Regions from separate parts of the Homo sapiens genome. Here all the other regions are linked to region 4. Evidence: promoter capture Hi-C in 16 types of primary human blood cells and fetal thymus (Javierre and others, 2016). All regions are on one chromosome and are shown on one strand. The core of a region is centred on a gene start or on the middle of the fragment in contact, and the rest is flanking DNA. Distances in the headings are between cores, read along the strand shown.

Evidence for each region. Contacts are between HindIII fragments. The CHiCAGO score rates a contact against its expected background, and 5 or more counts as called.
Region 1: a contact is called between the fragment with the promoter of ZCCHC2 here and the fragment with the promoter of TMX3 in region 4, in 1 of 17 cell types (total B cells). The highest score is 7.3, in total B cells.
Region 2: a contact is called between a fragment that was not itself captured here and the fragment with the promoter of TMX3 in region 4, in 1 of 17 cell types (non-activated CD4 T cells). The highest score is 6.6, in non-activated CD4 T cells.
Region 3: the fragment with the promoter of PIGN here is called in contact with the fragment with the promoter of TMX3 in region 4 in 3 of 17 cell types (total B cells, activated CD4 T cells and non-activated CD4 T cells); the score reaches 7.6 in total B cells.

What each region holds. Positions count from the first base shown.
Region 1 is chr18:62,520,702-62,525,422 of GRCh38, reverse strand. ZCCHC2 (zinc finger CCHC-type containing 2) reads right to left here and starts at 2,398. Exons shown (of 14, transcript NM_017742.6): 1 at 1,060-2,398. The coding sequence starts at 1,998. RefSeq lists silencers at 505-634, 875-1,114, 2,005-2,504, 2,535-2,804, 3,035-3,144 and an enhancer at 1,116-1,689. The HindIII fragment of the contact is 5,111 bases long and covers 1-2,425 here.
Region 2 is chr18:74,149,269-74,154,035 of GRCh38, reverse strand. The region is part of intron 1 of TIMM21 (translocase of inner mitochondrial membrane 21); the gene reads right to left. Among named protein-coding and RNA genes, the nearest start is that of TIMM21, 3.1 kb to the right of the region's middle. RefSeq lists an enhancer at 2,320-3,519. The HindIII fragment of the contact is 5,042 bases long and covers 240-4,767 here.
Region 3 is chr18:62,183,515-62,188,583 of GRCh38, reverse strand. PIGN (phosphatidylinositol glycan anchor biosynthesis class N) reads left to right here and starts at 1,528. Exons shown (of 31, transcript NM_176787.5): 1 at 1,528-1,740. It overlaps RELCH (RAB11 binding and LisH domain, coiled-coil and HEAT repeat containing), which reads right to left and starts at 1,329. Exons shown (of 29, transcript NM_001346231.2): 1 at 553-1,329. The coding sequence starts at 1,078. RefSeq lists silencers at 644-863, 1,814-2,026 and an enhancer at 1,014-1,223. The HindIII fragment of the contact is 4,021 bases long and covers 1-3,554 here.
Region 4 is chr18:68,711,921-68,716,899 of GRCh38, reverse strand. It overlaps TMX3 (thioredoxin related transmembrane protein 3), which reads left to right and starts at 1,792. Exons shown (of 16, transcript NM_019022.5): 1 at 1,792-1,964; 2 at 3,000-3,054. The coding sequence starts at 1,919. It also overlaps a transcript of CCDC102B not described here. RefSeq lists an enhancer at 1,465-1,534 and silencers at 1,735-1,864, 2,045-2,144. The HindIII fragment of the contact is 941 bases long and covers 1,312-2,252 here.

The DNA of each region.
Region 1 (4,721 bases), core at 1,149-3,648, 6.2 Mb after region 4:
AAATCAACACCTTTCAAAAGCCTGTGACCCCACAAATAATCTCACTTTACAGTTCTCACTCTTACTGAAACCTACTCCCCACCTTCCCATGGAAAAGTCCTCCTCAAAGACTCACTGGACCCTAATTATCATTAAATTGCTTTCATGGCTGTAAAAAAAATTCATCTTTAATGTTTGCGACAAGTGTCTCATCTGGATTCTCGTCTACTACATTTTGGTGTTTAAGTGATTCTTTTGGGCAACATTAACGCCTATCGTAAACGCTCAACAAATATCCCGGAACCCCAATCTGTAGGCAGGAATCAAGCCCGTGAGAAAGCGCGTGTGCCGGAGGGAAAAAGCATCCCAGGCCGCGCTAGAAAAGGTTTCTCTCCCCGGACAACCTGCGTTACTACTCATCTCAGATCCATTCGCAGGTCTCTACGTCAGATGTCTGCTGGGAACACAAGCCCTCAGAGCAGAAGCCACAAGGACCCGTACGACCCCTTTTAACTCAGGCACACACTGGGCAAAAAAAGTCCCTCTGTGCCAAAGACAAGGGCAGCTCGCCGGGAGCGCACCTTCAGGACACCCCGCCGAGGGCCCGGCAGAGCCCGGAGACGGGAGGCGGAGCCCCGGCCAGGCAGGCGGGGAAGGACGGCGCTGCCTGGGGCTCACTGCGGCTGGCTCTCACACAGGTTCCTCCAGCGCCCGGCGGCTCCCGCACCGAGCGCTGAGATGCTCAGAGCCAAAAACGTCCCGACACTTTTCCTCCGAGAGGGGCCCCGGGCGGGGAGCTCCACGTCTTCCGTGGCAACACCGTGGCACGGAAGGGACTTCTAGAGCATTCTGTGATGGCGGGTGGCTGTGTCTGCCGGGGTGTGGGGTGGGGTGGGGGAGTGGAACGGAGCGGCCCAGCGAGACGAAGCTCAGCCCTCTGGCGCTGGGAGCTGCCGGGTGGGGATTCCGAGCCACCTGCGCCGGGCTGGGGCTCGGGCAAGGGGCGTCCGAGAGCGAGGCCGGGGAGGCCGCCGGGGCAGCGATCGCACCGCGAGTCCAGGGAGGCTCCGTGCGCCTTACCTGGGCCCTGGGGCCGGCAAACTTGCACGGCTCTACCTCCACCTCCGCGTCCTCGGGGCCCCCGCGGAGCGCGGCGCGGAGCCTCTCCAAGTGTTCCCTCAGGGTGACCCGCTGGTGGAAGGAGAAAGCCGGGTGCAGCGAGGCCATGGTGAAGAGCAGCAGCAGTTCCTCCTGGGCCCTGGAGCCAAGCCCGCCGCCGACCCGGGGCTCCACAATGCCGCCTTCCGGGCCTGAGCCGTCCTTCTCGGCGTCCTGCTCGCCGTCGCCGTCCTCGCCGCGCTCGTCCTCCGCGCCGCCCCGCGAGCCCTCGCCCCGGGCCGCGCGCAGGCTTTTGAGCACCGAGTCCACCTGGGGTAGCAGGCGGTGCAGACGGCCAGCGGCCTCCCGGTTCTCCGAGCCCAGCAGCGCCAGGTAGACGATGAGGCGCGAGCGCACCGCGGGCTCTCGGAAGTCGGCCAGCGGCCCCGGGTCCGAGAGGCCGTTGGCCTTGGCCTCCGAGTCGCGCAGGTAGTGGTAGTCCTTGCGCGCCAGGTCCTCCAGGCACGAGCCAAGGAAGCGCAGCTCCAGCGGGTTGCACAGGTCCAGCAGCCCGCACATGAACTCCAGGCGCTGCGCCGAGCCCAGCACCAGCCCGAACCACTCGTATACCCGCTCCTGCTCGCGCAGCGCCGCCGAGGGCCCCCCGCCGCCGCCCGGCATACCCGCCCCCGCCGCCGCTCCACCAGCAACAGGCGGCCCGAGTCCCCGGGGCGGCGGCGGCGGCGGCAGAGGGCCCCGCGACGGGCCCGCGGGCGGCGGCGGCGGCGGCGGGGGGCGGCAGTCGCGGCGGCGGCGCGAAGGCGCCTTCGCGCCCGGCCGCGCGTCCGCCTCGGGCTCCTCCGCCTCGGGCGGCGGCTCCGCGGGGTGCGTTGGCTTCAGCGGCAGCTTCATCCTCAGCATCCTCGGCTAGGGCGGCGCAGACATGCGAGCGGGGGCGGGCGGGAGGGGCCGCGAGGTGGAGCACGGGCCGAGGCGGCGGCGCGGCCGTCAGGAGCGGGGCCCCTCCATGCCGCCGGGGGAGGGCCGGGGCCGGGGGCGGGTCTCGGCCGGCGAGGGGGGCGGTGGCCGGCCGGCGGGGTCGCTGGCGTCGTCTTCCCGGGCTGGGGGCGGGGCGTGCCCGCGACGGCTCCTCCCCCTGGGCTCCTCGCCGGTTCTGGGAGCCCGGGTGCGGGTGGGAGCAAGCGAGCGAGGGTGTCCTCCTTCCGCCTCCCTCTCTCCGCCGTCCGCGCTGAGCCGGGGCGGCGGTGCCTGAGCTGTTCCCTCGCGAGCCGGTGAGGACGGAGCGGCTGGGTGAGGAGGTGGAGCAGCCGGGCCGGGCGGAGAAGCTTGCGGGCTCCGCGCACCTCACCTCCGCCAATCAGCACCGCGAATCGACGGTGACGTCGCTCTCCCCGCCCCCTGGGGGGCCGCCTTTCTCCAGGAAGCCACGCCCAACTGCTGGCCGGCCGCCTCCCTCTCGGCGGCTTCCGTGCGGTCCTAAAGGCTGGTGCTCGGCAGGAGGAGGACGCGGGCTGGGGCCGTGGGGCGGCGTGAGGGTAGCCCGGGAGCGGTGAGGAGCGTGCGAGGCCCACGTGAGCGGAGGGACGCGGCCGCTCTCACCTTTCCTGAGGGCCCTGGCCCGGCTTTGGACTCCTGATTCTCCTCTGCTTGCCAGCTGCCGCCCCGCCTCCGCCAGTGGTGCCCGGGCTGCCTGCGCGGCCGGAGTGAACGCGTCCCGGGAGCAGGGGTTTCTCCGAAGTGAGTGCGCCAGCCCCGGGACGAGCTCGTTCGAGTCCTCACCGCCCAGTGCACTTCCTGAAAGCCGGCGGTGGGCTGTCTCCCACCTTGTGAAACTTTGCCAGGTGTCGCTCACAGGGGACTGGGTCCGGACGCGGGTGGCGGCGCTGGTTTGCGGCCCCGGTTTGCGGCCCCGGCGCCGCGATCCCGGGCCGCGCCCACGCCCAGGCTGGAGGCACCGTGCGCAGGTGGGGACGCGCGGCCGGGAGGTGCGCAGCGGGACCCGGCCGGCCGAGGGTGAGCGCTGCTGGGGACGCTCCTAGTCTGTAACGCTCTGTGAAAATTATTTCCTGGATAGTTTAGGAAAAGCCTCTCCCTTCCCCGCCCCTAAACCTCTATCTTTTGGGAATCATTGATTTGCTAAATGACATTTCGGTGCCTAACCCATTTTGAATCCTTGTTCTGCTGTGAATTTCATGTGACTGGAGGAATTTAATAAGCTACCAACTTGACAGGCTTTAAACTTAAAAAAAAAAAGTTTTGTTACGTTTTTCAGATTTAGGCTTCCAAGATGTTTACACTCGCACTGTTACTTTTTTTTTTTTTTTTTTTTTTTTTTAGCAACATAGTCCAAATTTTTAAAACTCAGCTGGATCTTTTGAGGGTTAATTAAAAGGTGGGTTAAAAAAAATCTTAAGACTTTAAATTTAGAAGTCCTACTACAGCTATGTAGTAGGAGTATGCAGAAAGATAAGAATCACATTGTAACTCTTTGCGGTGGTGCTGGAACATCTGTTGGGAGAGCATATGCTGAACTCTGTTCACCTCACAAGTTTATGTCCTAAGAGGCTCATTCACAGTTCAGTAAAAGGGTGAACTGAAGCCTGAATCAGTTTCGGGGATGAAAGGGTGAGAGGGAGAACTGTTTTCAGCACATTTGAGGTTGGCAAAATATATAAAAGTCACTCTTTCTTGTAATTTGCTAGTTCTTTACAGTCTTTAGATGTAATTTACAGCCAAGAAAACTTTATTATGAGGACTTATACGTCATTGCCCTTTTTTGCTGTCACCCTCAACTACCCTGGGATCTTCTACTCATATCTCATCTCCTGTTCCCACTTTTCTAAAGCTTAGGGTGAAATACTTAGGCAACTAGTAATAATATTAATCTTGCTAGATATTCACAGGTTCATAGTGAGCCAGCTGTCTAGATCTGGATATCTAGTGAGCAAATAAATTCTTTACCTCCGAGTTGATTTTTGTTTTATTGATCGATTGACACAGTCTTGCTCTGTCACCCAGGCTGGAGCACAGGCTCAAGCAGATCCTCCTGCCTCAGCCTCTCAAGTAGCTGGGACCACAGGCACGTGACACCACACCTGGCTAATTGTTTGTATTTTTTTGTAGAGACAGAGTCTCACCATGTTGCCCAGGCTGGCAAATTGAGTTTTATATGTGACGCAGTCAAAGGGGCATTTTCCTTGGCAATAAGAAGCCATTTGATATGAACTCTCCACAATAGTTGATGCATACATTTTATACCAGAATTCAAATTTGTAATCAATAATGATTACTTGGGTGTTTATAGCTTTGGCCAACATTAAACAATATAGTGATCAAAGCTTATACACATAAGTGACATATACCATGATTTAATGATTTTGGTTATCCATCAGCTGGACAATTTGTTGTTTATCTCCGTCTCTGCATACTGCAGCTCACAAGGAGGCCTCAATGTTTTTTCCATGTTACCATAAGTGAGAGAACACATTCAGTAAGAGTGAAAAAACGCTAGTGCTTTTGAGGGAGGGGCCCCGATGGAAGTCCCACTGTGACATGTGAGTTTTTAAGCTGGGAAAACTACCCTGATGATTCTAGTAAGACTCCCTAGAAAGGGATTCCTCTTA
Region 2 (4,767 bases), core at 1,511-4,010, 5.4 Mb before region 4:
TATGCAAAGAGCTATAACATTACAGTTACACTACCTTAACATTACAATTACGACTATGCTTTTCACTGATGCTGAGAAAGTGAGTCACCTCCTGGCATTATGTTTATAGACTAATTTATTCACCACATTAGCCATTCAGACTTCTGAAATATAAATCTTTAAAAAATTTTTAAGAAAAAAACTTTTGGAAGAAAATTTTAATAGATGTTGCTGTTATTTTCTCTTCTGTATAAAAAGCTTCTATTATGTTTATAAACAACATTGTTTAAAAGAAGTATTTAGCTAATACAACGCTTGTTTAAAAGTAGTCTTTAGCGTATCACAATCCTTCAAGTTTTCAGCAAGGTTCCCAACTTAGAAGACATTATTCAAATAATAAAAAGACCTCATCTGCCAAAATCTGTGTAATTCATGGGACTGACTCAAACAATTGTCACAAATCCAATTTCCCTTCCAAGGTTCAGGAGTTGGGGCCTACAATGACGACATCTCATTCCACTCTCAGTGTCACAAAATACATTTCAATAAATATTACCTGCCAGTTATGTATCAACTCCCAGGTTGAGAATACAATAACAACTAACTAGTTCTAGTAAGTATCCTTATTTGTCCTTGTTACCCAAACCGGGTCATTGGCCCCAACACCCTGGACTTCTGACTGTCCCTTCCAACAATTCATTCCTACCTTGCTTAGGGTATCTGACAGGTCTTTTCCATTTATTTGATAAACAACAGCTCCTGTATATCTGTTATATATAAAGCCCTGTGCTAAATATTCTCCATATTCTACACACTTGAAAAATTTCTGTTTGTTACTTTATAGCTGTCTCCAATGGAAGCTGCTCACTGTCTAACTTTCTGAACCCTATCAGACCTAATACTTGTATGCAAAAAACCCTCATGCCATTTATTTGCTTCCACAATTCTCTACCCCTCCTATAGTGGGTGCTGTGGTATGGGGCTCCCAGCTGCAGGGAGCACTGGTAGCGGACAGTTGTCAGCTGAGCTCCTCTCTGGGCATTCCATCATAAGAGAGCTTCCTCACTTAGGTCACGGCACTTCCCTGGACCAGCCCATATTCAATGCCTGGTTGATGCAGAAGCATAAGACTCAGCCCCCATATTAGGTAGGACAGTGACTGGCCAGCTCAGCTCCAGAAGTCCCCAGAGCAGCAGCTGAGGCCCCAACTGCAAATGCACTTCGGCCTCTCCCTCTGCCCAGTCCTGCTTCCCTCATCCCTCAAGACGTATTCTGAGAGCACTCCCTGATAAACCTTACGCAAATCCCACTTCCCTGGGAAGCCAACCTACAACGGGTGCTACCAGGAGTGGTAAGCAGCTCTCAATTTGGATTTTGGAGCTGGCTTGCCGGCCACTGGCTGGCAATGAGGACCCTGTCCCTGGTGGTAGGGGGGTACTGACAGCACCTGTCATAGAGCTGTAGTGCAGCTGATGCAGCTCTCACCAATGGGGACCTGGGATGGAATGCTGGCGGAAGGGAATGTACTGGCTGATGTGTTATTCTGGGAGTTTAGGAGGAATCAGCAATTTTAAGGACTTATATCAGACGGCTGTGGCTGGGGCCATGGAGAGGGATGGTGAGATGAAGTGTGTAACTAATCACCAGTGAAGGTGAGTGCCAAGGGCAGGAGCCTCCTCCCCGGCAGAACAAGACTCAAATTGCACCCAGAGGATAGAAAATGCGTGGGTGAGGTCTGGGGCGGAAGGGATTCAGGGAGTTTGGCATTTCAAGCCCATGAGACCTCCCACACCAAGGTCAGGGTCCTGATTTGGGAGGAAAGGCAACCTAAAGCTGGGTAGGGGGCCCTTGAGGTCAATGTTGTAAAAAATCTTGAATCCCAATTCTCCTGACCCCTCTAGCCCTGAAGCAGCAGCTCAGTGTCTGGTAAAGGTTGGCACTTCCTCCACCTTGGAAACTGGGCGAGGGGTGGGTGGGGGTTTCTGCCTAGCAAGATACGTGCTGCTCTCAGGAGGGCTCTCCACCTCCCCTCCTGGCCAAGTTACAACACGACTGGGCATGAGAAGGGTGAGAAGAACAATACTCGGAAGGAGCTGGAGGTCCCCCCGGGGGGGGGGGGAACATAGACACCACTGCTTCTTAAGGGTGGTGTGTCAAGGGCACAGAACACAAAACCAGCTGAGAGTTGATCAGCATGGGGCACGCTCCTGTGATGAATTTAGCAACCAGGCAAGCACCCTGGGAACTGATATGCAGCTGGCTAGGTCTGCTCCTGGAAACTTCGAGACAGTGATGGTCCACATTAAGTAAAAGTGACAGAACAGCCATGGCAAACTGGACGAAAGGCTCAACAGCCTCCAAGAATGGGGATGCTACCATAGATATAAGATATAAAGCCCGAAAACCCACCAGCTGACTATGTTCTTAGGAGGGACAGGAGGACACTGTGTACCAAAGCCACAAGGAAGCCACAGTTACATCTTTATAGAGCAGGATGCCCTGACAGAAATGGAGATGAAAGAATTATGAAGCAGAGACCAGGCTGGGGTGTTAAACAGAAGCCAAGGTGGGTGCAACCATCATAACTAATGGCAAGGCTGGAGTGGCAGTCGGGAGTGTCTGACCTACAGAAAGCAACAGAGTTGATGACTAGAACACAGTGTTTCCAAAGGGAAGACACAAGGGCAGCGGACAAGGCTACTTCTGAATTACACAGTCATGAGAAATTAACTACAGATGATTCCTGAGGCTGAAGGCAGCTGCTCTAATGCAAAGTCCTGAACATTGCCCCAGTTTCTGGACCTGAACCAGTTTTCAGACCTGGAACGCATTTACTGAAGGAAAGCGTATGTAACTGACTCCCCCCGTCCTTCACCAAAAGGACCTACAGTTATCAACTTGGACATAGTCTGTGCTGACAGTGATACCCAAGGACCCAAAGAGTCATGATGACCCCCTGACCGCCCTCCATCACCGGATGTAAGAAGCTCACAGGTGGGTCCAGGGACTTACCTGGCAATAATTTCTGTGATTTCCAAATGTATAAATCAAGGGGATGTACTGAGTAACTGGCAACAATAACTCCCACTTTAGTTCCTTTGGAAGTGGGTTAAGAGCCATCGCAGTGGGAAAAGTCAAATGGAAGCCCCTGAAGCTGCCCTTTCGGTGACCAAGATAGGAAATTAAAAATGATATCACATCTATGGGGAATGGCAGAGTATTCTTAGAGACCTTAGATACAGGCATGGCGATCCCCATCACGGTCCCTTGTAATTTACCAGTCTTCCTTTACAAAACACAAATAGGTGCTGGAGAATGACAGTGGTTAACTGCAAACTCAACCAAGTGGCAGCCGGGGTACACATGTAATACCACAAATGGTAACTTTACAGGGGAATGCATTAACACAATCTCATGGTATTGGCCATTGCTTTGAAGAACGCCTTCTATTCAGAAGCAGCAGCAGTAGTCTGTAGTAACATGAAACAGATAATAACAGTGTATGTTTATGATCCTGCCCAGGATTTGCTAATTCTCTCACCCTCTATCATAACAGTCTTAAGGGACTGAAACCTTCTGGACCTGGGCTGTCTAATACAGTAGCCACTTGCCACTCATGGCTATTTCAGTTCAATTTTAAATTAATTAAAATTAAATCAATTCAGTTCTTCAGTCACAAGTTTTAGCAACATTTCAAGTGCTCAAAATAGCTACAAGTGGCCAGGAACTACCCAAATGGACAGCACAGATATAGGACATTTCTATGCAGAAAGTTTTATTTGAATAATGCTGTTCTGGACATTCAGGAGAATATCACATTTGTCTACTATATTTATGCCATCATGTTAGAGCCCATAAGTAACAAGTGGCAAGTGTGTTAGAAGGCTTGGTCAGAGAAGCTGCAAGTGTGAGAGGTGGGTCCAACAAAGATGCAGAGGCTCATCAACACATGAGCCGACCTCGTGGGGCTACACTGGGGCGTGCCAAGACATGCCCTCCCAAGTAAAAGACAATTGTACCCTATACCTCCTACCACAATGCTTCATAGGCCTGTTTGAATTCTGGACGCAGCATATTCCATATTTGGGAATGTTGCTCCCATCAATTCACTCAGCCACAAGGACTGTCACGTCTGAATGGGGTGCAGATGAGGGAAGGGGTCCCTAAGCAGGCCTGGTGTGCAGTGCAAGCATGAGCACTGTTGCCTGAGCCAGATGACCTGATGCACATGCTGTTTGCCACTTCTATGCCTTTCACCTCTGCATACAGGTTGTTCCTTCGTGCTGAACTAGTATGAATGAAAAGCTAGGTTTTTGGCATAGTCAGCAGACTCTAAAACAATTGGTATGATCCAATTTTTTGGGTTAAAAATTATTAAAAGGTATGTGTATGAAAGTGCAAAATGTTAAAAATAGTCATCTTCGTGTGGTATAATCATGGCGGTCTAAATTGCTTTGTCTTTTTTTTTCCTACAAATCACATGCGAAATGAAGACATTAAAAAAAAATCTTAAAATATCTGTGAATACATCTCTGACTTTCCCTGACAACTTACATTCCATCCTCCCTATTTTATGTTTTTCTATTACTGCAGGTAACATGTGAAAGTTTTCCCTACCAGTTATGAGTCAATAATCTCTCTCTCTCTCTTTTTATCCTATCCAATTACTCTTTATTATATGTAACAGAGCCAATATAACTTGAGAAAAATTTCCCAAACATAATGAAAAAAAGTTATATCAAATTCAAGATCAACTTTCACATCTGAGTTCCAATCTGTGAAGAAAAC
Region 3 (5,069 bases), core at 279-2,778, 6.5 Mb after region 4:
AACTTTATCTCAACAGAACAAATTTTGTGCAGCAGAAAACCCAATTTTGGCGGTGAAAAAGTCGTCCCAAAGACAAAGGGTCTTAAGTACATCTGACTTTTCGGAGACAGCAGCAGTGTGTCCTATTCTTTCTCTCCTGGCTCAGACTCAAAGAACTACTGCAGGCAATTCAGGTAACACTATTTCCTGGTAGTGTGATTCAGGTAACTGGAGAAAAAGGAAAATGCTTAAAGCAATAAACTAGTATAAAAGGGAACCTTCTGGAGTCCCGTAATAGCCAGTGAACTAGAAACTCTTGATATTTTATAGATACTGACACCAGTAGGGGAGCCAGGAGCCAAGTGCAACACCAGCCAAGGGTTGGAAGCAGGCAGAGAGAACAGTCATTGCCTGATCCTCTTGCTTCCACCGCAAAAGAGCGCCCCCACCCCAATACTCTCGTTCCTTAAAATGTCCCTATCGGGACCCACGCAGAAATACCCCCTCTCCCCTACAGTAACTCCGTACAATCCCAAATACCCTGCCGGAGTGTGACAGGCTGCGTCCACTTACTGAGCTGTCCCCCGCCCGACGCTGTACTCGGTTCCCGACCTCCAGCGCCCCCAACGCCGGCTGCTCCAGGGACCCCTGGCGCCCCCATCCCCGGCGGGGTTCCACTTTGCCTCTCGAAGTTGCCTGGATTGGAGAAGTAGTCGCGCAGCCGAGGCAGCTCCCGGCCACTCTCTAACAGCTCGGTATGCAGCTCCAGGGCGGTCAGCAAGTATTGATCGCGCAACAGCTGAGCAGCGATCGCATCAATTGATAATCGGGCCGGGGTCTCCCCGGTGCCCCCCAGGGCCACTGCAGCCGCCGACGCCTCCCCAGGGAGCCCTGGCCGCGCACTGCTTCCTAAGGCCACGGGATCCTGTGGCGACAGCGAGCCCGCAGAGCCAGGATCTAGGCCACTTCCGGCGCCCAGCCGAAGTACTGCCCGCCGTTCCTCTGTTGCAGCTACCTCGTCATCGTCCTCATCCGAATCACTGAGAAATGGATTCACGCCGCCACCACTGCCACTACCTCCAGGCGCCATCGCCGCCATCTTATCCTGTCAGGAGTGTGGGCGCCTCCCTGACTGGTTCCGACGGGCCGCAGCCCGAATCCTCTAGGCCTCAGGGGACACAGCGCACCTCCACAGCCCCGGCCTGACCACGTCCTGCCTCCCGACTTAGAGACAAGGAGTACGCTCCAAGGCAGGAGATCCGGATGCAGCTGCACCTGATGCCTCAGCCTCTGCTGCACCAGCAGCCCGGCTCTGCAGGCGTCTTCCTGGTCTCCAGTCTCGCGAGAACTGGAGCGTGCCCCTGCCCCTCTCCCCGATCTAGCCCCGCCCCAGCCCCGCCCCAGCCCACTTCAGCTCCGCCCATTCCCAGCGCCAGATAGCAAAGATTGAAGGCCCCGCTCTCCGCTCAAAAGCAAAACTCCACCCACGACTCCTCCATGATTGGTCAGAGAAGGAAGGCGTGGAGCGGACTGACGGGAGACTGGCCCGAGAATTATCGCGATAGCAGCAGCGGCCGGGCAGGTATTGGGGGCGTTCCGGAATTGAGGGGTGGTTGTAGTGGTGGCTTAGGAATACCCTCCCGGCTATCGCTTCAGTGGGTAGAGGGGACCACTGCCCGAGAGCTTTAATGGAGCTGGGTCCTGCCTTCGCGCTGAGGAGCCCTCGTTTTCGAGATCAGGCCTGACCGGGATAAGCTCCAGGTAAAGTTCAGGGACCAGTGCGCGGAGGGTGTCGGCGCCCAAACTGTGGTGTCGCGCCCGCGGACGCGCTGTTTCCCTACTGCGCTGCACTTTTTCTCGCTATTTGCTGCCAGTGGTGACATTTTGTCCCCATGGATAGCAAGTGCCCAGGCCTGTAGTCGGAATGTGACTTCCTTTCTTTTCCCTTCTCTGCCACATGCTTGCACACTCGGGAGGCCTAGCGACAGCACGACTTCTCAGCCCCGGAGGTGGTCCTGCCTGTGGGTGGGGACGGGGGCTGGAGAGACTAAACGGAAAAGGGAACGCTGAGGTTGGCATTTGCCTGGATCTGGGAACATCGTCGAGTTGGAAAACAAATTGTTAGGTACTCAATAAACGCTTAGGATTTAATACACGATTTACACAACAGGGACCCTTCAGAATATCTAATGCTGTCTCACCAGTAGACAGATAAGTAAACTTAAGCCAAGAGTGGTTGTTATAAAATCAGCTCCACGCCGGGCGCGGTGGCTCACGCCTGTAATCCCAGCACTTTGGGAGGCCGAGCCGGGCGGATCACGAGGTCGGGAGTTCGAGACCAGCCTGACCAACATGGTGAAACCCCTTCTCTACTAAAAACACAAAAATTAGTTGGGCGTGGTGGCGCAAGCCTGCAATCCCAGCTACTCAGGAGGCTGAGGCAGGAGAATCGCTTGAACCCCGGAGGCGAAGATTGCAGTGAGCCGAGGTCGCGCCACTGCACTCCAGCCTGGGCGACAGAACGAGACTCCGTCTCAAAAAAAAAAAAAAAAAAAAAAAAAAATCAATTCCGCTAATAAGGAGTCAAAGGAATTAACATCATTTCTCTTATGTCCCAAACGATTCTTTATCCACTGTCTCCTGCAACATTTCTGACTCGTTCATGCAGGCTAGAATCAAGGTTTTGGAACTTAGAACTATTTTAAAAGTTGAATGCTTCAGAGAGTTTTGATTTTTTTGATGAAATGTTAGCATATAAAGTACATATCCTAAGTTTAGAAGATCAACGTTTATCTTTTATGTCATTCCTTGATTATGATCTGAAAAGGTAAAGGAATTTCCAGTCAATACAATTAGACTGCTATTTCTTATGGCTCCTATTTTTTTCACACACAAATGACCACTTTTCCAGGCTTTAGATTTCCTTTCTTAGTGTACAGGTAAGTGACATATTACATTCAGTGTGTAGTAAACATTCCACAGTAAAGTATCTCCCGTTAGCTCCATGGAAAAATTAAAATAGACGATTCTTACATAACCTTAGGTCAGGTTATTGGTTTACATGTAAAAGTATGCCAACAGTTAAGAGTAGGCTTTAATTTCAATATACCCAGGCTCAATAAACTAAAATTTTCATTTGAATGGGGATTTGGGTTTTTAAAATTTTATTTTTGCTAGAAGTTTAAAAAAAAAGTACCAAGAATTTAAACTATTTTTTTATAGGACATTAGTTCCCAATGTTTTAATGATAAATAGTTTTCTGTGCCATATATTAAAAGTAAAACATGGGGAAAAAAATCCCCCCAAATAGAATTGAAATGGCAAATACTGTATCCTGTTAGAGATTTCTTAGCAAAAGGGATTGCTGATCCGTATTTTAGTTGGATTTTCCAGAGAGATTAAAATGGAACCAATTTCTGGAATCCAGGAATGGAGGATTAGTGAATGGCATGGGAAGGGCATGATTAGAAATGGATTGTTTATATACAATATTTCCATCTCCATGATTGGGAAATTGAGAAATCTCCTGCATTTAGGATTCCTGAAGAGGATTATGCTTATAAGATAGAAAAGCTTAAGTTCAGATCCCAATTCTACTCATTATTTATTGTGAGACCTTGAAAAAGTTACCTAACTTCTCAGCCTCACTTGCATTCGTCTATCAAAGGGGATAAGGAAAGTACACAGAATTGAGAATGTTCTTGTCCCAGTGCCTGGTACCTGCTACACAATAACTATTACTGTGGTCACTTATTAATTATTGAAATATTAGTATGTGTTGAGAACATTTGACAAGTGTTTAAAAATAAAACTAATATCAATCGTTTTGGCAGTGCAAGCCTGAAAAAGCAATTAAGTCAGTAGGGCTGAAGGGAGTATCTTTAATTTGGGGTCTCAGTTCTAAAACACAAGTTGAAAATAGATTTAAAATGTTTCCTCAGAGTTGTAAGAACTTGCATGTAGAGGAATTCTTCCCATACAAATCTGTGGTTTTCTGCTTCTATTTCTGCCTCCTATCCTATAACCATGAACTTGTGTGTTTGATCTTGTAAGCCCATTAGAAATCAACTGCCCAGTCTTCCCAGTATGTACTTTTCTTTTCCACAATACACAGAGGTTTGGTTATTCGTGAATAATGTATAAGTAACACACACTGGAATATTAAAAATTACCGATCACTACTTATAATAATGTATTATTAATAGTGTTGGGAAATTTCCTTTCTACTTAGTAAGATTTTCATTAATCTAGGCCCTTACAACTAATGTTTCATCTGACTAATGATAGTTATTAAAGCTTGTGCCTTAGCAATGAAGATGTAAAAGATGCCTTTTTTCAAAGCACGTCAATCATTTTAGTATTTAAAAAATTATTTTAGGTTTTAATAGTCTTAAAAGAACCACAAGTAATATTCTGAATGCAAGTTTTGGTTGACTTGAGGTTTTAGTAATACCTCATGTTTTATTGTTTTTCAGTGTGTGGTAAACATCCACAGATAAACTAGATAACTTGTATTGGTACATGCATATATCTTTTTAAAATTTTAATAGTTATGTGTTTGTTTTGGAGGTATTTCTTTTTCAATAAATCTGAATAAATTGTGATTTTCTTTAAAGAGAAGTATTAAGTAATATTTAGTATTAAGCAATTAAACTAATTAAAATAAGTAGTTAGTGAATGCTGATATTTTGTAATAACTGCAATTTTATTTACATTAATAGTAAATTACTTTATCATAAAAGGTTTAGTTTTTTTTTTTTTAAAGTATTTTCAGTCTTCACATCTTGTTCTGGAGGAACAAAAACAGAAGCAGGGCATCCTCTAGTGGCTGTAGTGCATATTGCATTTACCCTTGAAATGATAATTCTAAATAATTTATTCAGCAAACATTTGAGTCCTTACTAAGTGCATAAGACTCTGATGGGTGTTGGAGATGCCCCGTCCTGCTGTCATGGAATTGTGGTGAAGTGACAGAGACAGACATTAATTCAAATAGTCGTAGACAAAGCTATGTAATTACAAACTGAAGTAAAAGTTTTCGTTTCTGACTTCACCTGCATAGTCCCTGAGGAAGTGATGCTTGAAATGGA
Region 4 (4,979 bases), core at 543-3,042:
TCACTGTGTTAGCCAGGATGGTCTCGATCTCTTGACCTCGTGATCCACCTGCCTCGGCCTCCCAAAGTGCTGGGATTACAGGTGTAAGCCACCGCGCCAGGCCACATCTGGCTAATTTTTTAATTTTTTGTACAGATGGGGTCTCACTGTGTTGACCAGGCTGGTCTCAGACGCCTCACCTCAAGCAATCCTCCTGCCTCAGCCTCCCAAAGTGCTGGGATAATAGGCATGAGCCACCCATGCCTGGGACTTGATCAGTATTTAGATTTCATAAAATTTACAGTTGAAAAAGTAGATTCACATACCTCAGTTGTTCCAACCACATTAAAAAAACTTTCCAATAGCTGAATCGAGTGTCAGTTTTTGAGTTTACTGAAATTAAAAAAAATAAATATTCAGTTATTTCATCACACTAGGCACATTTCAAAAGCTCAATAGCCACATGTGGTTAGTGGCTACACTACTGAAAAGCACAGATCTAGGTCAACTGGCTTTTGTTGTTGTCCACATGTGAACTTAAACTGTAACGCAAATATAAGAGGAAATTATTTCACTTTGCATGCTGTGGAAGACAGAAAACTTTGAAATACATGAGAATGAAAAAAAAAAATTGAATATGGGTCATTCAGAGACCTTGCCAAGAAAGTAGAAAAGCTTCTGTATAAGAGTATCGAGGCGATGGTACTATTATAAAGCTGTTCCACCACCACCGGGAGAACATTCCCATCATTTCAACAGTCCCCTTACGTTTTAGTCTACTTTTTTCTTAAAAAAAAAAGAAAAAAAGGAAAAGAGAAAGAAAAAGAAAAATTGAATCTGTAGAGGGCTTGCGCTGGATACCATGCTGCATGCACAAAGGGGGTGACATTTAGGGCTTGCTCTCAATTAGAGTGCAATTTAATCTTCTAGTCACTAGGAATAACGACGTTTTATGACATTTTTGCCTGTTGGAATTTTGAACCTAAGGTGAACCGGCTGACATCATATCCCCCTTCTGTTGTTGTCACAGGTTTTCAAAATTTGGTTTGATCTAAATTCTCTGGTACCTTATGTCCCATAAAAATTTCATCTAGTTCGTAAGTAGTGATTGCTGCAGTAACCGTCTTATAAAAGTATATGGTTTTTACAAATCATTGTCGTATAGAAGAAAAAACAGGTAGCAATATAAATATTTCATACTACTTTATCTAGTTCCAAAATAATCAGAAAAGAGCCATCAAAAAATATCCTACGCTTAACTTCATGTTCTCAAGTTTCAAGAGAAAGTTTTTAAAGAGGCAATCCTTACTTTGGCAAAAATGCATTAAAGCTTGCTGCATTTAAGAGATGTCCCATTATGCAAACAGGTTGAAAGAATATTACAAATACGTTTTGGAAAAATACGGAGTGTCGCGCAGCTCAGCAATCCGCAGTCTTAATGCGCGCCTCTTTCCAGGAATTTGATCCAGCATCAAAACCCACAGGTGCACTCACCACACGGGAGTAACAAGTAAATGATGTGCCAGTATTCAACCTGCAAGTGCGTCGTCAGAGCCTACCTCACCCTCAGCATAACTTTCACCGGTATTCACCTTCCCGGAAACGCGCCCCAGTGAACCAGCACCGTTTTCCCTAGTAAAGCCCTTAAGCAGGGTTCCCACGCTCCTGGGCGTGGAGGGGGGCACCGAGAGCGCAAAGGATTCTTAAGACATGACTGCGCAGGCGCTGTCGCATGCGCCGCACTCCCCTCGCATGCGCCGCACTCCCGCGCATAGCCGGAGACGGAGACTGGCCGGGTAGCCCCGCCCCCGTAGTTAGCGCGGTGCTTCTCTTCCGCTCCGGGTCGGCTCCGTTTCCCTTTCCGGGCGGGCAGGCGGCGGACCCCAGTGTCTTTATCCCTCTTTTGCACAGTCAGCTTCTGCAGCTCTCCCGGGCTAGCATGGCAGCGTGGAAGAGTTGGACGGCCCTGCGGCTCTGCGCCACAGGTAATGGGGGCTCAGCGGTCGGGACGCTGGCGGGCGCGTGGGACCTGGCCCCGCCGTGGGGCCGGGATTGGACCCGGGTCTGGGGCGAGGCCTGCGGGGTTCGTGGAGATGCCCACCCATTCCCGGCAGCGTCCTGCCGCCCCCGCCGCGCCACCCTGCCTGGCCCTGACGGAGCGGACACCTTGGGGTCCTTCCGCCGCCGCTGTGCCGGACCAATGCTGGACGTGGGAAGGGCGCGCTGCCTTGTGTTTGTGTTTTTCTCATTGTGGCAGAAGTTTCAATAAAGCTTACTCCTTTGATGGGCAAGAAGGATGCCGCCGTCCCAGCTTAACGACCAAATCTTGCCTTGGCTTTAGGTTCCGAGTCTTGTCACGTTTAAGGATTTTTACCACCAGTACTCAAGAGAGGGTGGTCGAGGACAGATCAGGGTCAGGCCGCCGGGATTGTGCGGTGTGAAAAGGACCTGAGTGTGTGTCAGCGGTTCTCAGCTGCCTCCCGTCAGCATGGAGTGCCCTCATTCTCACTGGGGTCCGCTCACTTAACAACCTTTTAGAGCCCACTCTGTGTCAGGCACTGCCGTGTAATAAGTATTAGAGTTGCAGCTCGACTTTCTTCCTACGTATCTATTTGAGGGGAAATATTTTGAATGGCATTTGGAGTTTTTACGGAAGAGGTAATTGCTACTAAAGCAAAAGAAATAAAGAAGAATGCTGTCTATTTGTATTCCAAAAAGATAGGATGGTTAAAAAGAGACGTAAGATGAGAGTGAAAATATGGAGGAAAAAGGAACTGTGTGTATTAGATTTATTGGCTTACCTAGAACTTGGCCGGTCACGATATGGTTGCATACAGACTAAATATTTATTAAATGGATGAACTACCTTTGCTTTTGCATCATTTGCACCCTGGGATGCATCAGTGATGAATTTTTTGGTAGGTTGTGAAAGGTCAAAAACACTTCAGAGATGACTAAGCTTATACGGTATGAGCCAAATAATCAGCATTTATTGTGTACATTTTGTCTTTTTTTTTCAGTTGTTGTACTTGATATGGTCGTCTGTAAAGGATTTGTAGAAGATTTAGATGAATCGTGAGTATACATATATATATTTAAAATATTATTTTAACTGTCCAACTCAGATATCTGAATATTTGCATGTGATTCTAATATTTTAGATTGGAACCAATTTTTATATATCACTCATTTTTTTCACTTGTTGTAAGTGAAGGTGAGGGTGTGCCCAGAAGAGTTTTATTAATAGTTATGAGATCAAAAAACTGTGGCAAACTTTTACATATTCTTTTTTTCCTCATTATCTTACCTTGTATTTATGTCTTTTTCCTTTAATTATATTGAATGGGTGTTAGAATTTGGTAACTGTACTGTATTTATCTTCATAGTATGACAGCATTAATCAGCCTTGCTTATAGTAAGTGAGGAGGTTCACTTCAGACCCAAATTCCTGTGTGTGATCTTTCAGGCTTGACCATAGACAATTGCAAGGCTTTTTCTGGCATAGGGGAAGGTGCCCTCCCTACACCAAACTTGGTGTATAACCGGTGCATTACAGTCCCTGGAGGGAGTGGTAGTCAAGGATTCGGCCTCCCAGGCCAGCCACGCTCATTTGCATGTCTACACTCCCAACCCAGTGGTCTCTGTTTAGCAGCCTCCTTATTGGGACCTCACCTGAGGCATTTCCTGAGCACTTCTGCTAAAACATCTTTATTGAGGGTGTCAGCGGAGGCACTTTTCTACTCTAGTCCTTTTCTCTCTCACCCCCCATAAAGAGACAGAAGACTTTTGTTCAGTGCTGTAGGAAATGAGATGAATTCTCCCATCTGTGTCTCATCCACCTGACTCACCTGGTGCTGTTTCATGGGGAGAGATGGAACACTGAGGAGCTGGTGCCTCTTTTTTTTTTTTTTTTTTTTAAACCTCTTGACTTGCACTGTCACAGTAAGTGAATAAAGCTGTGATTGTTAGTTTCAGTTTAGCTTGTTGTCCTGATTGACTACCTGGACACCTGATGGCATGACCAAATGGGTGCAGTGAGAGGGTGATCATACAGTGCTGTTCTGTAAGAGCAAAAATCCTGACAGTCCCATGGGGGCACTTCGCTGCTCATGCTGTTGGGTCATGGGGGATGCTCACTGATTGTTTACAGGAAGTTTTTGATTCTGAGAAGAACGATTGTTAACAAGGAGATAGTCTTATTAAACTTAGTGCCTTGTGGGGTGTGTCACTACAGACTTCCTCCTTCAGAGTGTCCTAACAGGGGCAACTCTTCCTGAGGAGGAGGAAGGGATTCTGCTCCTAATAACCATTTTGTTACCCATGTGGATGCTCACCAGAAAGGTCCCTATGCTGAAAAAGGGGACCTTTACCAAGAGCAAACTGTTCGTCAGCTAAATGTGGAAAATGAATTGTTCCTTGCTCCAGAGCAAGCAGATGTGCAACCAGTTGCCTCCGGGATCCACAAGAGATGGCTCATGGAAATTCAGACAGGATCCCAGATTGGGCAAGAATGCATGGACTGCGACAGTTGTGAGAAGACACCATAACAACGTGAAAAAGCTGCTTGCTTGTCAGACCCCGGTCAAGGCTAACAATACTGTCCAGGGACAGGTTCATAAAGCCAGTGGGCCAGGATATTCTCAGCAGATAGAACATGGTGGGCCTCTCATTCTGTCTGTAATGTTCCTGTGGCTCCTGATTGCAGCTGACATGTCTCTGGGTTTCGCTTAGCCATTCCTATGTGTTCCAATGACTTGGGCCACACTGTCTAGGCCCTACAAGACCACCTTTGTTTCCTGTTCAGTTACCTTAAGAACACTGCATCTGATAATGACCCTGGATTTTTGGCCCAAGCTACACATCAGTGAGCCCAATTATGGGTGAAACAATGGGCTCGTCATATGCTGTAAACTCTGATCCGCAGGGTGGTTGAACATTTTAAGGGACAGTTAAAGGTTGGGCCTGACCAGCTGATGGTAAGGTACAGTACCCCTGCTGGA